Regions from separate parts of the Homo sapiens genome. Here regions 2, 3, 4, 5 and 6 are each linked to region 1. Evidence: promoter capture Hi-C in human tissues and cell types (Jung and others, 2019). All regions are on one chromosome and are shown on one strand. The core of a region is centred on a gene start or on the middle of the fragment in contact, and the rest is flanking DNA. Distances in the headings are between cores, read along the strand shown. Region 1 holds the start of NXNL2 (nucleoredoxin like 2). Region 2 overlaps DAPK1 (death associated protein kinase 1). Region 3 overlaps DAPK1 (death associated protein kinase 1). Region 4 has its middle 5.9 kb from the start of SHC3. Region 5 overlaps LOC105376131 (a long non-coding RNA gene). Region 6 has its middle 26 kb from the start of CDK20.

Region 1 (3,095 bases), core at 436-2,935:
GGGGAGAACGTCTCTCTGCATTTGCTATTTTTCAAGTGCCTCTCGCTCAAAATAATCAATATACCAAAGCGGCATATTTTAGGATGGCATATTTTGGTTTCATTCACTGTCTTTAAGTTTTTGATATTTTGTTCATTATAAACTTTTTTTGCATTCATTTTGACTTTTTAAGATATTGTATTAAAACATTATTTACCTTGACTACTGAGTTTTTTTGTCGCGCCCTTAAATTTTGCCCCTATGCGAGTGCCTCGCTCGCTTGCCTCCTTCTAGCCCGGGTCTGGCAGGGAGTTGAAATTATTTTTCTCACTGCTGAATTCCCAGGGCCTACAACAGTGCTCGCCAAAAAATTAATACTCTTGGTTCTTCAAATAAAACATTCTGTAAGGACTGCTCCCAATTTCTTCCTGAACTTCACGAACCCTCCCAGCCAGGCCACAGGATGTCAGGGGCAAACACCCTGAACCAACGGAGCTCAGGTTCCCTACCACCCCGCCCAAGCCCGCTCCAAGCCCAATTACCCTTCCCCTTCCTCGTCGTCCCATCCTCCCTGATGCCTCTTCCAGGGTGCTGGGCCGCGCGGCAAGAGCTCCAAGGCAAGATTCAAATGCCCTGGGGAGACGGCTGCGGGACACCTGCGGCGGGGCCCGGCAGGGAGCGCGAGACTGGAAGAGAGGCCAGGAGGGAAGGAGAGCGACGCGGGGTTTTGGGGGAGGGGCTGCGTGGGGCGCTGAAGGGGAGCGCGAGGAGTGGGAGGAAGTGAAGGAGGAGGAAGAGCACGGTGTGGGGGAAGCGCAGGAGGCAATAGGTGGGGCGGGACGGAGGGCAGGGCGCTGCGTCGGGAGAAAGTGTAGAAGCGCTGGGGAGAGTGCCCACGACGGGAGAGCCCAGGGGCGCGAGGGCGCGGGAGTGTGGGCGGGGCGCAGTGGGGATGGGGGCGGGGGCGCGGGATGTGGTAGGGGGCGTAGTGGGGAGAGAGTGCAGGAGTGTGGGCAGGGCGCAGTGTGGGGAGGGTGCGGGAGTGTGAGCGGGGCGCAGTGGAGGGAGTGCAGGATGTGGGCTGGACAACCAGTGGGAGAGGGCGCGGGAGGTGGGCGGGGCGCAGTCGGGATGGGGGCGGGGGCGCGGGATGTCGGCGGGCCGCAGTGAGGGGGAGGGCGCGGGAGTGTGGGCGGGGCGCAGTGGGGGAGGGAGCGGGAGTGTGCGCGGGGCGCAGTGAGGGGAAACTGTGGAATGTGGGCGAGGCGCAGTTGGAGAAGAGTGCGGGGATGTGGGCGGGGCGCAGTGAGGGGAAACTGTGGAATGTGGGCGAGGCGCAGTTGGAGGAGAGTGCGGGGATGTGGGCGGGGTGCGGTGGGGGAGGGTGCGGAGATGTGGGCGGGGCGCAGTGGGTGGAGAGTGTAGGGATGTGGGCCCAGCGCAGTGGGGGACAGTGTGGGGATGCGGGCGAGGCGCAGTGGGGGCGGGGGCGGGGATGTGGGCGGGGCGCAGTGGGTGGAGAGTGCGGGATGTGGGCGGGGCGCAGTGGGTGGAGAGTGCGGAATGTGGGCGGGGCGCAGTTGGGGAGCTTGCGGGGAATGTGGGCGGGGCGCAGTGGTGGGAGGGCGCAGGAGTGTGGGCGGGGCGCAGTTGGGGGAGGGTGCAGAGACCTGAGGGCTTGAGGTTGCCTGGCTGGCCCCGCTCCCAGAGGCGGGTGCCGCGCTGTCGCCCAGGTATCTGGGGTCTCTGGTGTCTGAGTGTCTCATTGTCGGCGCGAACACAATTGCTCCAGCCACAGGCGAGGCCTGGCCAAGGTGTGGGCGCATCTGGGGCAGGTCTTGAGAGGTCCAGCGCCCGGTGGTGCGGACAGAGGCGGGGCACCGCGGCGCTCGCCGCCGCCTCCCCGCAGGTGATCATCCTCCTGCAGGTGTCCTCGGGTCTCAGGTGGCTGCGTGTCTGCGCCATGGTTGACATTCTGGGCGAGCGGCACCTGGTGACCTGTAAGGGCGCGACGGTGGAGGCCGAGGCGGCGCTGCAGAACAAGGTGGTGGCACTGTACTTCGCGGCGGCCCGGTGCGCGCCGAGCCGCGACTTCACGCCGCTGCTCTGCGACTTCTATACGGCGCTGGTGGCCGAGGCGCGGCGGCCCGCGCCCTTCGAAGTGGTCTTCGTGTCAGCCGACGGCAGCTCCCAGGAGATGCTGGACTTCATGCGCGAGCTGCATGGCGCCTGGCTGGCGCTGCCCTTCCACGACCCCTACCGGCAGTGAGTGGGGGTCCTGGGGGGGCGGGGGCCGCCCGGCACGTCTCCCCCATGTTCCCCCAGGCCTCCCCCTCTGCACTGGGGAGCTCTTTATGACGCCCCCCCCCAACACCTCCCCGTCTCTCGGTTCACGTCCGGACTCCGGTAAATCACACTCAGTCTCAGTTTCAACCTCTCTTGGAGACCAGGGAGGGTGCAGACCAGATTCGAAAACCCAGGGCATCGGCACCCCAAGGGGGCTCGTGGAGCATGGACGCGGGCGCGTTTCTGCCTGGGGTCTGGAGCTCCGGGAATCTGCATTGCGAAGGAGCTCCCAGTGGTGGTGATGCTGTGAGTTCGCGGGCTCGGCTCCGGGAACCGCCGGCCCAATCAGCCCTGGACTCCCGGCGCCGCTGCGTCATCCTCCCAGTTAGTGGGCAGGAAGCACAGGGACATGACCCGGTGTCTGGATGCGGGGATGAGGGATGACCCGCGAGGACATCAGCTCTGTGACAGGCACCCACAGTGCAGGCCGTGGTTGGTTTGCTGGGAGGGAGGGACGGGGGCTTCAAGGCTGGCAGGAACCCAGGTGCTGGCCACCTTTGCGGTTTCATTTTTACCGACACTGATGGAATTTCATCACTAGAGAAGCATAAAACTCATTACTATAAACTTTATTACTCTAACTGTTGCAAAGGAGGGGGTAGGGATTGGCAGAGAGGGGATTACAGGGATTGATTGTTCTGCTTTTGGGGTGGGTCTCCTGTGGTCTCCTATGGTGTAAGAGTCCAGACTTAGGTTTAAAGCAGGCCTCGTCAAGTATGTTGTCCTGGCCACCCCCTTCTAGGTACCAATGTGAATTTCTGGGTTTTGCT
Region 2 (3,095 bases), core at 420-2,919, 910 kb before region 1:
GCAGGCAGCTGAGGATCCACTCTGACTCTGGGCTTTTTTCTCTCATGCTAATAGTTTCTCATCTGAATTCGTTTTTAACTTCACCTGAAGTGGACACTGTTGAGCACCCCTCTCTACCCTCTCCTGCCTGTTAGAACTGTGGCCTGGGTGACTCTAGACCCTCAGCCTCTCATCACCAATCCAGTAATCTGCAGTTCCCCCACATCCACACTGGGCTCGGTAGAGCCTCGGCAACATCAGAGCCCTTTTTCACACGTTACCACCTCTCTCCAAGGGCATCCTTTGGGCCCATGGAATGACTTGGGATGCACATTGAGCCACCATTCTAGAATGGCTTTCATGCTGGCTGCCTTGCACTTTTTTTTTTTTTTATTTCTCTGAGTTGATGGCCTCTACCATTTTCATTTCTAAAAGGTCTCTGGGAACTTTAACAAATTCTGATTTCATTTCTTTGGAGTATTTTTATGGTACCTCCCCCATCCATTTCTCTTTCCCATGCGCCCTCGCTCCCTATCCCCTGTGGAAACAAAAATGCAAGCAGAGAATCAGAAACTGAGCCAATGCCCAGTGTTGGGGTAGGAGGCTGTGGTTTCTGTGAATCCTTCGTAGGTGTGACAACCTCCTACACCAGACACCCTGCAGGGTGTGAGTGTCACCCTGCTGCCTGAGCAGCAGGCTCCGGTACCTCACAAAACAGCACTAAAGGTTGTCTTCTCCTGAAGGTTGTCTCTTACAAACCAAGTCTCTGAACCAAGAGCACATTTTCAAGAACTCCAGTCATTTTGATGTATTCAGTGGGTAGAGGGAAGGTAGATTCTCTTCCCTGAAAGGGGAAGAGAGGAAAAAAAAAGATTGCTTTTGGTTTGTTGGCTTGTTTTATAAATGCCTCCTTATATTCCACATAATGCTTCCTCAATTTAAGAAAAAAATAGGCTGGGTGCTGTAGCTCACGCCTGTAATCCTAGCACTTTGGGAGGCCGAGGCAGGTGGATTGCCTGAGCTCAGGAGTTCAAGACCAGCCTGGGCAACACGGTGAAACCCTGTCTCCACTAAAATACAAAAAATCAGCCGGGTGTGGTGGGGCGCACCTGTAATCCCAGCTACTCGGGAGGTTGAGGCAAGAGAATTGCTAGAACCCGGGAGGTGGCGGTTGCAGTGACCCGAGATTGCACCACTGCACCCCAGCCTGGGCGGCAGAGTGAGACTCCATCTCTAAAAAAAAAATAAATAATAAGGACTTTTTAAAAATTCCATGTCAAGCTGAGAACTGCAGCCTCCTGTTTGAAAATCCGCGCCTCAGCAAACTGCCACTCAATCATTTGGCCCTGAATTTGAGCATGCCATCATTTGAGTCAGTGGGTTGGGTAATCACATAAGGGGCCCACTAGGACTTGAAAGCACAATTGTTTATTATGCTGTGCTGGTAATGACTTCCACCTTCTTAACAGCTGAGTAAAGTGGTCTGGCCCCACATCCTCCTGGGCCTGCTGGTATTAATAAATCATGGTGCATTTTCTTTTCACCAATCCAGCATTCTGTTTCCTTCTTGGATGCTAAAAGAAAGTCATGGTTTTGCTTTTTTCACTTATGAATGAAAGTGATTACATTAAAAATCTTCCTTTTCCACACAGGCTGGACCTTAATGCAGCTTCACAGATTAGTCTTTCATGCCTATGGAAGACCACATTTTTGAGGCTAGAGACCTTTTGGGGATCCCAAAGTATTTCCAAATGTGGATCTTTCTTTTCTTGGCACAGTTGGCAGAGCTAACAGGTTTGGTCCCTCATGCACGAGGCATACATCCCTGAAACATAAGGTTTTTGTGCTGGTAGCGACAGTCCGTCCCCATCATCAAGCAGGACACAAAGGAACTGGAATAAAATTGCCTGTTAATTTTAGGAGACATTGGGGACCGGGTGCAGTGGTGACGCTATGGGCTAGAGGGTGGGTTGGGAGTGGAGGTGTAAGACAAGATAGTTTTTATGAAAGGTTCTGGGTTCCTGAGAGGAAGGGATTGTGCCGGGGATCGAGCTAACATTTCCTGTGCAAGGACTGTGTGCCATGCCCTTGCTCATAAGTGCCTTTCATTTGAGCTCATTTAATGTAGAGACGGTGAAAAAACATCCACCTCTGTAGAAAGCTGGGCCTGAGGAGCAAAACCCCTCAGATAGGAGGTAACACTTTGTTCCTGGACTGGGAGGGGAACTCAAGCAGCTTTATTTTTTCTGAATACTGATAATTGCCATTCACTGAGCACTTTTTATATGCCGGGTGTATTATATACATCGTGTCATTTAATCCTCACAAAAGCTCAAGGAGGCAGGGTTCTGAGATTCTATTGCTACAAAAGAAAGCACTCCAAAGCTTCTTGATGTGAAGTGGCAACAGTCATTTGTTTTGATCACAAATCTGAAATTAGGACAAGGCTCAGCAGGGACACCTTTTCCCTACTCCTTGCAGCCACAGCTGGAGCAGATGCCTGGGGCTAGAGGATTCCCTACTTAGATGGCCCCTGACATGCTGCAGATCACTCAGAGGGGACCCCCTTCCAAGATGTCCTCCACATGACTGACAAGGTAGTGCTGGCTGTCAGCTGTGAGTTCAGTCAGGGCTGTTGGTTCCACTCCACCTGTGCTCCTCCACTGTGCTAGTTGGGCTCTCCCACAGCATGGCAGCTGAGACCTAAGGTCAGGTCCTCCAAAACAGGACATGGAAGTTGCCAGTCTCTTAAAACCTGGATCTGGAAACTGGCACAGCATCACTTCTTTCAGATTCTATTGGTCGAGCAGGCACAGAACTTGCTCAGATTCAAGGCGATGCAGCAAAAGAGACCACAGCTCTCAATGGGTAGTGCCAAAGGGTTTGCAGCCATCTTTATTCTACCAGAGGTGCAGAAAGGTTAAGTGTCTTCCCCTGGATTACTCAGCCAGCAAGTGGACAGGACCCTTATCCCCTGATTTCTTCCAGATCCTGTGACACTCCTGAGTTGGCCAGAGCACCCGACTGACCTCGAGTCAGCTTTCTGTGTCCATTTTTTGCCATCAACTGTACCTGTAACATCAATGCCCACCACAGCGCCAGAGGCCTAGCGAAGC
Region 3 (3,095 bases), core at 435-2,934, 830 kb before region 1:
AGGACACCAGAACTTTCCTTCCCTCCTACCAGCCTCTTGAGCCAGTAGGAGCCTGGCCCCTCCATTAAAAGGCCTGGGGACATTGACTCACTGCTGAGGAGGCTGCTGCTCTTCCCTTAGGTTTGGAAATGATCTTCACATTTCAAATAAGCTGTTTGTTCTGGATGCTGGGGCTTCTGGGTCAAAGGACATGAAGGTACTTCGAAATCATCTGCAAGAAATACGAAGCCAGATTGTTTCGGTAAGTACACCATGGAAAGAGCCTGGACCCCTTTGTACTTCCTTCCTGGTTTGCCTCTGGTTTCAGGGAACTGCTTCATAGTAGGACCCAGTAAGAGGTGTCTGCCTGGACATGTCTTTATCCTAGTGCCCTGGGAAAAGAAAGGAAGAATAGAGAAACAAGGAGATGATGGGAGCTGAAGGGTTATTATGGGCAAGGTGGACCACTTCAATTTTATGAAATTCTTACCGATTTATTGGTTTCTTTAACAATATTTTATTTATTTATTTTATTTTTTCAGAGACAGGATCTCACACTGTCATCCAGGCTGGAGTACAGTGGTGTGATCATAGCTCACCGTAACCTTGAACTCCAGGGCTCAAGCAATCTGTCCATCTCAGCCTCCCAAGTAGCTAGGACTATAGGCACGCACCACCATGTCTGGCTAATTTTTTTGATTTTTTGGTAGAGACAGGGTCTTACTATGTTGCCCAGGCTGGTCTCGAACTCCTAGGCTCAGGTGCTCCTCCCACCTCAGCCTCCCAAAGTGCTGAGATTACAGGTGTGAGCCACCATGCCTGGCCAATTTTGGGAAAAAACCAAAAAATTCAAAAGTGACTTATTGTGGAATATTTAGAAAATTCAGAAAAGTAGAAAAACAGTCACAAACTTTTTTGAAAGACAGAAAAGAATAAATGAACAAAGGGAATGAGACTGTATTCTTGGGTTGCAAGATATGACTATTTTATTTTTCCCTAGTTATATAAATGTAATACAATTTCAGTTAGCATCTGAATGGGTTGAGGGGATTGGGATTTTTATCTTAAAATTTCCATGGAAAAATTCATTAAACCTATTATAAAGCCCCTGATAATCAATACAGTTAAATAGGAGGAAAAGCTTAGAGGGTATAGAAGTAAATCATAATATCTTTAGAAATATAATGGAAAATAAATATGTCATTTGAATTTAATGGGGTAAAGATTATTTAATAAATGAACCTGGCACAACTGGCTATTTGTCTGGAAGGAAATAAAGTTGGATTCCTACACCCTACAAAGTCCAAAAATAAATGGATTAAAGCTTTTAAGTAAAAACATGAAACAATAAATACCTTGAATAGAAATTGTGGAGAGTGTATTTTCAAAATAACTAGGGACTGAGGGAACCTGTTAAACCAAGATCTAAAACCCTAGAAATTTTAAAAGAAAATATACCTGTTTGAAAATGTAAAAATTTTTAAAATTTTTTTCTAGCAAACAAATTAAGTAAACAAAGTTGAAAGGTGAAATAGGCTGGGAAAAAGCATTCTCAATGCTTTGGACAGATAAATGGTCACACCGTAATGTTCAAAAAGCTCTCCGGAATTGGTAAGAAAAGGGCGAGCGTCCCAGTGGAGAAGTGGTGGCATTCACTCTGGAGTCTTCCTGCTGCCGAGGCCTGAGGACAAATGCGGGCAGATGCCTGTCTCCCTCTCTTACCTTTGAAGCTGCCTCTGGGTGTATTTTTTTTTTTTTTTTTTAACTGCTTTGCTAATAAGAAAATGCTGTGCTTCCCGCACCAGATTCTGGTTCTAGATGTGCTTCCAGAATTCTCGGGAAACCCTTTCCTGTCTCCAGAAAACCCTGCCCTTCACACCAGATATCCTCGTTGGGGTCCCACTGTGGCATCATCAGAAGATAGGGGGTAGTCCGGTGAGGCCTGGGAGGAATCTGTCACAGAAACCAGGGGCGGTGATCTGGGAACTAACAGTGGTCTCTGAGGGCCCCTGTGCTTCCCCACCAGGTCTGGATTGAGGCTGCATTCCTGAGGCAGGAGGGAGTGTCCCTGGAGATTTTTGAGCTGGGCTCTGGCATGATCTGCTGCTTCTCAGACACCCCCCGCCCAACCCCTAAACTCCTGAGCTCAGGCAGGTGGAGCCCACCACATCAACTGCACTCACCCCTGAGAATTTTGTTTTTGAATGCAGAGTGGAATTTAGCTGACACAAAAGAATTTGAGAGGGGAGTGCGGAATTAATGGCACGGTGTAGCCTGTGGCTTATGTGGTTTCTAATTCAGAGGTATGTGGATTACGTGAGTCTGTAACATATGCTGATCTAATTAACCAAGTTAAAAGGTTAAAAATCCACTTCAGCCTACATACCAAGAATGGGTCTAATTGGAAACAATATTTCAACAACAGTCCCCACGAATGCCTAATTTACTGGTAAACACTCACTCTAATATTGATGATGATACTCATTCTCTTTTCCTCTGTTCATAAAGTGATCATTGCCTGAGTGAAACAGTCACGAGAGAGAGAGCGAGGGAAGAAAGGAGGGAGGGAGGAAAAAGTGAGGGAGTGAAACATTAGGAGTTGGTGAACATTAGTTGATTGAGTGACTGAGTCCACAATTCCAAAAACGTTCCTAGAAGACTCAAAATCTATTTAACATGAACTAAAGAGCCTTTATAAAACTTTATATTTGAGCAATAGATGAGGCTTAAAAGCAAGTCTAAAAGACAACTGCCCCAGTACTCAACCCAAAAAACACAAACTAGCCAGACACAGTGGTGTGTACTTGTAGTCGGAGCTACTCAGGAGACTGAGACAAGAGGATTACTTGAGCCCAAGGGTTTGAGACCAGCCTGGGCAATAGCGAGACCCAGTCTAAAAAAAGAAAAAAAAACGTCAACAACAACAAAAAAACCCACTCGTTCATCAAATCACCTGCAAGGCGCCTGAATGAAAGGTGTCCTTTCCACTGTGGCTCTGCTCAGGGCACCCACAGCTGCAGGTGAGTTAACCTGTCTGGCCCTGCCCCCTCTAGGTCTGTCCTCCCATGACTCACCTGTGTGAGAAAATCATCTCCACGCTGCCTTCCTGGAGGAAG
Region 4 (3,095 bases), core at 324-2,823, 650 kb after region 1:
AGGGAGCAGAGGCAGAAGTGGGCTGTGACCCAGGCCCCACACACCTCGTCCTTCCAAGAGTTCTGGAGAAAGAGTGCCATCCACAGAGAGTATCCCCTGGCCTGCAGGGCTCCTCATTCACTCTCACGCACTCCCTCACTCTCTCCCACATTCACCTCTTTAGTGTGGGCTGCCCAGGGAGGAACAGCCTCCAGCAGGTGGCACCCCACAGCTGAGCACCCCCAGAAAAAGTTGATGTGAAGGCTGTGTGCCCATGGCACCCTGCAGCCCAGCCTCTCCCAAAGAAAGGAATGCCAAGCAAAGCCCACGTTTCTAACTTGGACCATTGGGTTGAGCTGAATGTTAGCCATGAGGATGAGGAGCATCCCCATGACAGGCAGGTCATGGGGAAAGGCAAGGGCTGGGCTTGAATGTGTGTGAGGGGTGGGGATCTTCCATGTAGAGATGGCCAGAGCCGAAGAGCAGTCAGGGCTGGAAGTGGAAACTTGCAAATGCCAGACTTCCCAGATGGGAGCTAAGAAAAAAAAACGGTCATAATTTGGAGAATAAATATGGAAACCTGGTTTGATGAATGTCATGGAGGAGAGTTTCAAGAGAAAAACCAGTGATAGTTAACAAATGTAATGATGACAGTCATAACCACCTTGACTGAGTGTCCCTAGGCACCAATGCATGCCTGCTATAGAGAGATATAGATAGATGGTTTACAGCCTGTTTTGAATGAAAAGAAACCAAGAATCAGAGGAGTTACAAAATGTGCCAGAGCCACACTGGGTGAGTGATATGGTTTGGATTTGTGTCCCTGCCCAAATCTCAGGTTGAATTGTAATCCCCAGTGTTGGAGGTGGGGCCTAATGGGAGGTGACTGGATCATGGGGGCAGTTTCTAATGGTTTAGCTGTCCCCCAGTGCTGTCTCATAATAGGATTCTCACAAGATTTGCTTGTTTAAAAGTATGCAGCACCTCCCCCTTTGCTCTCTCTTCATCCTGCCCCTACCATGTAGATGTGCCTGCTTCCCCTTCACCTTCCGCCATAATTGTAAGTTTTCTGAGGCCTCGCCAGCCATGCTTCCCATACAGCCTGCAGAACTGTCAGCCAATTAAACCTTTTTTCTTTATAAATTACCCAGTTTCAGGCATTTCTTTATGGCAGTGTGAGAATGGACTAATACAGTGAGGAACTGACAGAATAGTCTTACTCCAAAGCCACGTTCATGACCCAGCATCACCCCTATTCAGACAGCTTGTGTAAGGTACCTGCTGAGACCCATCCTTGGCAGGTGGTGATCAGCCATCACCCGACATCTTAACAATGGGGATGGAGAGGCTTCTGCTTAGGTAGCAGGATGGTGCCAGCTGAATGAGACCAGAAATGAATGAAAAGATCATACTTTCCAAAAGATGGAATGAAATGAAAGGTGGGACATAGGGTAGTAGCCAGCAGTAGAGCAGAAGAGTACAAAGCAGGGGATGGAAGAGTTAGGAGTGTGTTTAGGGGCAGGGAGCAGAGCAGAGTGGGAGAAATCAATGCAGGAAGGAGACAGGTCAAGAGCCTGGGTAGCTCTTGCCCTGTGGGGATGGTGGGATATCTCATCCTCTGGTGGGAAGGAGGACTTGATGAGCAGACCATTCAGGGTCCAAAGTAGGAAACAGGAGTCCCTCCCCTCTGAAGTGGTTCAAAGGCAGAGACTTTAATATAACAGACATAAAGATGAGGTTAACATAGCCCCAAAGGATGGTGATATGCCAGGGATATATCATCTCTGAGTCACAAGACTCAGAGGCCATCTCCAGCTCCAGGACCAAAGCAACAGAAAGGGAATTGAGTCACTGGAGCCAGGAGAATCCCAGCTGGAACTTTGGAGTGGAGGTTGTCAGAGGCAGCTGAAGTTTCAGAGGGCAAAAGTTACTGACAGAGAGGAGGCCAGAGAGGGGAAATACCCAGACTGTCTCTTTCCCTACTCTTATCTCCTGTTGGTGCCTCCCATTGGCCACATCCATGGGAAGCCAGAGGTCCAGGGAGCTTGGTGATGGGACCATGGGGAGAGGCAGCCCCCAGGCACAGAGCAGACTGGAAGGCTGAGGGGAAGTGCATGCTGAGTGTGTCTGCACGTCAATTTGTCTGTGGCGATGGTAGGAAGCTCAAAGCTTTTATGTCTGATTTGGACGTTACACCTGACTTTCACCATGAATAAAAGGCAGGGATGTACTTAAAAAGTGAGATGATTTCATTTCTGTAAGGCATTTGAGTTGCAGTTGAAGGTACAGAATGGCCACTGAGGGGGGCGAAAGGTGCTGCCAATGTGTCAGGATAAGCAAGGGATTGCTGCATGGCACCATGAACCAGTCATAGAGAGCCCAGATATGGGCATCCATCTGCCTGTTTATGAAATGGAAGACAGTGAATCATTAGCTACAGGGTCCATTCTAGGATGAAGGCACGGGAGGGAGGGCCTGGAGGACACAGCCAGCAGGAGTCAGGAATGGATGTGGGGTAGAGAAGGATAGGATGGCCACTGAAGGAGGATCAAACGCAGGCACAGTGCTCTCAAGGCCCTGGGAAGATTGCAACCTGGGGCCTTGGGGTGCACATCATGGAGAGGTGCATGGGAGCAGGTCCCTAATGGTGCCTCTTGAGGTGTAGGTGGGGAGAAGGATCAGCCTCACCACAGTGTTGGGGGGTGGGGAGTTCCAGTTTTGTTGAAGCCAGAGTTTGGAGTCATCCTGGGAGGAGGCTGAAACAGAAGAGAGCTTCTCCAGGACAATGTGGGAAGGGTGAGATGGCTGGGCACTCAGGGAAGAGCAAATGAGGGCACAAGTTGTTTAGAAGACAGAAGAGCCACACCTCATATTGACAGTAGAGGGAGGGGTACCCAGGCAGAGGGGCAGACGTACTCTTTGCAGGGACCCTCAGGGGACCACATGCCCATTCCCTGTTGTGGGAATGGAGAGCAGGACTGGATGTAGGAATACCTGTGGTTAAGAATAATCTGGAACAGGGCTCCCAACAGTGGAACCCAATGCTTCAGCACCAAGGAGAGTTCCTCACAACTGGAGGCCGGGGCCAGGCTCCCTGTCCTCAGAGAAGGGCCTTG
Region 5 (3,095 bases), core at 368-2,867, 550 kb before region 1:
AAAATTACAACTAGTTAGATAAAAGGAATAAGTTCTAGTGTTCTGTAGCACTGTGGTATGACTATATATTAGTTAACAATAATATATAGTTTCAAATAAGTAGAAGGAGGATATTGAATGTTTCCAACACAAATAAATGATAAATATTTGAGATAATGGATATGGTAATTACCCTATCTGATCTTTATACATTATGTATTGGACACTGTACCTGTCAAAACATCATTATGTACCCCATACATACATACAATTACTATATGTCAATCAAAATTTTAAAATAATAATAGACACATTTGATTTTATCAAAATTAAAAGCTTCTGTGCATCAAAGGACACAACAGAATAAAAAAGCAATATACGGAAAGGGAGATTCATGAAGCTGAGTGAACACCAAACAGAATGAATCTAAAGAAAACATGACCCAACCATAAGCCATCTACAACGAACTCATTCCAAATATAACAATATAAATAGTTTGAAAACAAGTAGTGACAAAAACTAAGAAGTTGTAAAAAGAAGTGATGGGGGTATGTTATAGAGACACAGGAGCCAGCTGAAAGAATTCCTAATGGCCAAAGCTAGAACAATTTGACCAAGAAAATAAAAAATATAATAGTACATTATTAACCGAAGTATAAAATAAATATACATAAGGAAAGCCTACGAAAAATTCTTCTAGATATTGGTCTAGGCAAAGAATTCATGGCTAAGACTTCAAAAGCAAATACAGCAATAACAAAAATAGACAAATGAGACTTAATTAAACTAAAATGTTTCTGCACAGCAGAAAAATAACGCAGTGAATAACAACCTGCAGAATAGGAGAAAATATTTTGCAAACTATGCATCTGACGGACTAATATCCAGAATATGCAAAGAACTCAAACATCTTAACAACAACAACAAAAACCAAATAACCCCACTAAAAGCAGTCAAAGAACATGAACAGACATTTGACAAACAAAGACATACAAATGGCCAACAAGCATATGAAAATATTCTCAACATCACTACTCATCAGGGAAATGAAAATTAAAATGAGATATCAGCTTACACCAGTCAGAATGCCTATTAATAAAAAGTCAAAGGCCAGGCACAGTGGTTCACGCCTGTAATCCCAGCACTTTGGGAGGCCGAGGCGGGTGGATTACCTGAGGTCGGGAGTTTGAGACCAGCCTGACTAACACGGAGAAACCCTGTCTCTACTAAAAAAATACAAAATTAGCCTGGCATGGTGGCACATGCCTGTACTCCCACCTACTAGGGAGGCTGAGGCAGGAGAATTGCTTGAACCTCGGAGGCGGAGGTTTCAGTGAGTCGAGATCGTGCCATTGCACTCCAGCCTGGGCAATAAGAGCGAAACTCTGTCTCAAAATAAATAAATTGTAAAAAAAAAAAAAAAGAAAGAAAAAAGAAAAAAAAATGTTGGCGAGGATACAGAGAAAAGGGAATGCTTATATACTGTTGGTGGGAATGTAAATTAGTACAACCTCTATGGAAAACAGTATGGAGATTTATCAAAGAATTAAAAATAGAACTACCATTCAATCCAGTAATCCCATTACTGGGTATCTACCTAAAGGAAAAGAAATCATTATATCAAAAAGGTACCTGCATTTGTATGTATGTAGTAGCACTATTTCCAGCAGAAAAGATATGGAATCAACCTAAGTCAACCTAGGTGTCTATCAAAGGATGATTGAATAAAGAAAATGTTTTATACACACACACACACATATATGTATGTGTATATACAGGAATACTACTCAGCCATATGTTGGGGACCAACCCCAACACCACCCGTAGGGTACCCAAAGTCCGGTGGTGACAAAGGAATGAGAAGAGACAGGTTAAGAGTTCATAAAGGTGGGAGCCAGGGGGCCAGAACAAATCAGAGGCTGCGAAGGTGCCAAGCTCTGGTCTCCACACTATTTATTGAGTACAGTCACTTAGATCTAAGAAGCAGATGTTCAGGGGTGAAACGGTGAAAGCGGGGGGCGGTGTGACATACACCTAATCTATAGCAATGGCGGTTTAGGTAAATTTTCTTTGTGCTGAAGCAGCATAAACTTAACTACTGATTTATTCTTTAACTTATTGGAGAGCAGCTATCGGGAGTGGGCATAACTAGGAGCCGGCATATCTGGCCACATTCCAATGCTTCAAAGGAGTGTCTTTCTCCTTGAGCACAGTGTTTATAGATAAGAGAGCAGGTCACGCTCTGGTCATGGGAACGTTATGGCAATTAGAAGACTTTCCTCCTCAGAGGCCTCTTGTGGCTTTCCACAACTTATTGTCCCATATTTTTATGGCCAGTTTATGCAGGCACCCCACAAGCCCTTTTCCCAACAGCCATAAAAAAAGAATAAAATCATGTCATTTGCAGCAACATGGAACTGGATATCATTTTTATATCTATATATATATACACACATACACATGTATATATGTGTATATACATATATACACGTATATACGTGTATATACGTGTATATACGTATATACACGTATATACGTGTATATACGTATATACACGTATATACGTGTATATACGTGTATATACATATATATATTTTTTTTTTTTTGAGACGGAGTTTTGCTCTGTCACCCAGGCTGGAGTGCAGTGACAGGATCTTGGCTCACTGCAACCTCTGCCTCCCGGGTTCAAGCAGTTCTCCTGCCTCAGCCTCCTGAGTAGCTGGGATTACAGGCACACACCACCGTGGCCGGCTAATTTTTGTATTTTTTTAGTAGAGTTGAGGATTCACCATGTTGGCCAGGCTGGTCTCAAACTCCTGACCTCAGGTGATCTGCCCACCTCGGCCCCACAAAGTGCTGAGATTACAGGCGTGAGCCACCGTGCCTGGCTTTCTTTTCCCGTTTTCCTTTTTTTTTTAAGAAAGGGGCTCCTCTGTTGCCCAGGCTAGAGTGCAATGGTATAATCATAGCTCACTGCAGCCTCCACTTCCCAGGCTCAAGCAACCATCCCATGTCAGCCTCTGAGTAGCTGGGGCTACAGACACATACCACTACACCCAGCTAATTTTGCTCTTGTCACCCGGGATTACAGGGTGAGCTGGGATTACAGGCATGAG
Region 6 (3,095 bases), core at 397-2,896, 530 kb before region 1:
ACAGTAGCACAATCTCTGCTCACTGCAATCTTTACCTCCTGGGTTCAAGCGATTCTCCTGCCTCAGCCTCCTGAGTAGCTGGGACTACAGGCAAACACCACCATGTCTGGCTAACTTCTGTATTTTTAGTAGAGACAGGGTTTCACCACGTTGGCTTCAAACTCCTGGCCTCAAGTGATCCACCTGCCTCAGCCTCCCAAAGTGCTAGGATTACAGGCATGAGCCACATTCCCCCGGCCCCAGCAGTTCTTTCTTGACAGAGGTGTTCTATGTGTATATGAAGAAATGGGAGTGAATAACAAACTTTACACACTGATACAAACTTTAAATTTCCAGACAAAAGTAATGGTAGTGGAACTAGCATAGAACTATCTTTCTTTTAGACCTCTGTTCTCCCTCACTGAGCCTCCAGCTTCATGCAATCAAAAATTCATTAGCGCATCAGTTTCTCTTCTGGCTCCCGTAACAATTGGTTCCTAGTGACATGGTCGGTTCAGGAGCCTAAAACTCATCTCGACAACTTTTTGTCCTTCAGGAGTAATGTCAATAGATCCCTCATTTCTGGACTTTATATTCACTTACTCTATATTAATTTTCTCTCTCCTCCTCTTATTTATTTTAGAATGTGGAATTCCCTTTATGCTTTAGCATCTTTATCCACAGACAATATCCATCTCTCAGAGCTGCTGGGAGGATTCCATGGAATCTTGTGTGAGATACTCTGACCATAAGTTAACAGTGAGTTATCTGTCTAGAAAAGGGAGCTCTCATTTATCAAAAGGGAGCTATGCAGGACCCCAGGTTATTCTGTGTATTCAGAATACACAGAATACGTTATTTTGCCTTATCCCATCCAAGCCAATGAGCTTGAAAGTTCTCAACTGAAACTTTCATTGAAAGTTTTCTCAATGACAAACAAACAACACAAACCCTCTTGACTAGTTACTCCAAGTATTACTGGCAGACCAGCAGCTTCAGCCTCCTGTAGGTGCTCGTCACAAGTGCAAATGCTTGAGCAGCACCCCAGACCTACTGAACCAGACTCTGCATTTTTAACAAGGTCCCTTGATGACTCAGATACACACTACAGGTCAAGAACGACCCTCTATAAGCTCTTCTTCATGAAGACATGAGTCCCATTTTCTACGCAAGTGCCTGCAGTTCCTTGGCTGAAGGAAGGAGACAACAGCTCTCATAAAGGACCTTTGTGAGGGTTAAATATTAATATATTTGCAGCAAGTGTTTTAAACTCTAGCTCTAGTTAATCTTTCTGCTCCCCTCTACAGCTTCTCATCTCCCCCAAATTCACTATTTTCTCAAGACTAAAACTGGATCAGTGGCTTCCCATGATGCTTAAATCATGACTTGATCCACTGTTACTTGATCCATTAAGTAATAAATCAGTAAACCTCTGCTGAGTGTCCATAATGTGCCATCTCCTGGGCCCAGGTCCATGAACCAAGCTTCGATCTCAGGGAGCTTCTGTCTCTACCTGAGCATGTATAGGCTCAGACAGGGCTCAGAGCACAGCCATCTGCAGTAGGTTTCTCAAACTGCTCTTCACCATCTGGGGTACCATGACAACTACTGCGTTCCCCCTCTTCAATTGGGGATAATAATAATAATATTCCTCTCAGAGGGTTACTGCAATGATTTAATGAGATCATCATGTTACTGGCCTGTCCATAGTAAGTCCTTAAGACCTCAATAAATGTTTGTTATTATTAAGTCTTTACAAGCCTGGAGAAGTTAAATAATAATGTATTTAAGGATCTAAAGTGCTGCATAATAAATGCTGGATTATGTATTTTACCCTAAATCTTCTAGAGCTTTTCATCCCAAATCTCCTTGTAGTTCCATGTGCTACAAAACAGCTTCATTCAGTGGTGTATGACTAAATGTCTATCAACAGGCCTTATAGGGAGTTATTATATATATTTTATGAGTTTATTATAAATTTTACTGATATAAAGAATATATAGCACACAATTTACTACTAATAGTAAAATATACAATACTCTATCACAAATTTTATGCACCTATGACTTCACTTTGAACTGCTATTTCTTGTAAAATCCAGAAGAGTATTTAATAGTTTTGTTGCCAACATGAGAGAACTTCACTTGCGCAATGATATGGGTGACTTCTAATAATTAGTCAAATAAATAGAAAGTGATGAGTTTGAGCATTCAATACCTGTGTGTTTAATATAATGTATTTAATTACAAGTTTATATGATTTAATTTTTCATAAATGATTGTTGATATGGTTTGGTTGTGTCCCCCACCCAAATCTCATCTTGAATTTTAACTCCCACAATTCCCATGTGTTGTGAAAGGGACCTGGTGGGAGGTAATTGAATCATGGGAGTGGGTCTTTCCCATGCTATTCTCATGATAGTGAATAAGTTTCATGAGATCTGATGGTTTTAAAAACGAGAGTCTCCCTGCACAAGCTCTCTTGTCTGCTGTCATGTGAGATGTGCCTTTCACCTTCCACCATGATTATGAGGCCTCCCCAGCCACATGGAACTGTAAGTCCAATAAACCTCTTTCTTTTGTGAATTGCCCAGTCTCAGGTATGTCTTTACCAGCAGTGTGAAAATGGACTAATACAGTAAATTGGTACCGGGAGTGGGGCATTACTGAAAAGATCCAAAAATGTGGAAGTGACTTTGGAACTGGGTAACAGGAGAGGTTGGAACAGTTTGGAGGGCTCAGAAGAAGATAGGAAAATGTGGGAAAGTTCAGAACTCCCTAGAGACTTGTTAAAGGGCTTTGACAAAAATGCTGCTAGTGATACGAACAATAAGGTCTAGGCTGAGGTGATCTCAGATGGAGATGAGGAACTTGTTGGAAACTGGAGCATAGGTGATTCTTCTTATGTTTTAGCAAAGAGACTGCTGGCATTTTGCCCCTGCCCTAGAGATTTGTGGAACTTTGAACTCGAGAGAGATGATTTAGAGTATCTAGCAGAAGAAATTTCTAAGCAGCAAAGCATTCAAGAGGTGACTTGGGTGCTATTAAAGACATTCAGTTTCAAAAGGGAAACAGAGCATAAAAGTTTGGAAAATTTGCAGCCTAACAATGCAATAG

Evidence for each region. Contacts are between HindIII fragments. The study calls those that stand out against the background at their distance.
Region 2: a fragment that was not itself captured here is called in contact with the fragment with the promoter of NXNL2 in region 1 in 1 of the 25 tissues and cell types used here (lymphoblastoid cells).
Region 3: a fragment that was not itself captured here is called in contact with the fragment with the promoter of NXNL2 in region 1 in 1 of the 25 tissues and cell types used here (dorsolateral prefrontal cortex).
Region 4: a fragment that was not itself captured here is called in contact with the fragment with the promoter of NXNL2 in region 1 in 1 of the 25 tissues and cell types used here (lymphoblastoid cells).
Region 5: a fragment that was not itself captured here is called in contact with the fragment with the promoter of NXNL2 in region 1 in 3 of the 25 tissues and cell types used here (dorsolateral prefrontal cortex, mesenchymal stem cells and stomach).
Region 6: a fragment that was not itself captured here is called in contact with the fragment with the promoter of NXNL2 in region 1 in 2 of the 25 tissues and cell types used here (bladder and spleen).

What each region holds. Positions count from the first base shown.
Region 1 is chr9:88,533,493-88,536,587 of GRCh38, forward strand. NXNL2 (nucleoredoxin like 2) reads left to right here and starts at 1,686. Exons shown (of 2, transcript NM_001161625.2): 1 at 1,686-2,244. The coding sequence starts at 1,943. It overlaps LOC105376134 (a long non-coding RNA gene), which reads right to left and starts at 1,048. Exons shown (of 2, transcript XR_007061653.1): 1 at 522-1,048. RefSeq lists enhancers at 1,472-2,306, 2,307-3,095. The HindIII fragment of the contact is 10,556 bases long and covers 1-3,095 here.
Region 2 is chr9:87,621,698-87,624,792 of GRCh38, forward strand. All of the region lies in intron 3 of DAPK1 (death associated protein kinase 1), which reads left to right. Among named protein-coding and RNA genes, the nearest start is that of DAPK1-IT1, 70 kb to the left of the region's middle. The HindIII fragment of the contact is 4,767 bases long and covers 1-3,095 here.
Region 3 is chr9:87,699,997-87,703,091 of GRCh38, forward strand. DAPK1 (death associated protein kinase 1) reads left to right here. Exons shown (of 26, transcript NM_004938.4): 24 at 121-241; 25 at 3,033-3,095. Among named protein-coding and RNA genes, the nearest start is that of CTSL, 25 kb to the right of the region's middle. RefSeq lists enhancers at 1-732, 2,542-3,095. The HindIII fragment of the contact is 4,842 bases long and covers 1-3,095 here.
Region 4 is chr9:89,183,155-89,186,249 of GRCh38, forward strand. No RefSeq gene overlaps it. Among named protein-coding and RNA genes, the nearest start is that of SHC3, 5.9 kb to the left of the region's middle. The HindIII fragment of the contact is 4,623 bases long and covers 1-3,095 here.
Region 5 is chr9:87,982,371-87,985,465 of GRCh38, forward strand. All of the region lies in intron 1 of LOC105376131 (a long non-coding RNA gene), which reads left to right. Among named protein-coding and RNA genes, the nearest start is that of CDK20, 9.4 kb to the left of the region's middle. The HindIII fragment of the contact is 6,657 bases long and covers 1-3,095 here.
Region 6 is chr9:87,998,538-88,001,632 of GRCh38, forward strand. No RefSeq gene overlaps it. Among named protein-coding and RNA genes, the nearest start is that of CDK20, 26 kb to the left of the region's middle. The HindIII fragment of the contact is 6,418 bases long and covers 1-3,095 here.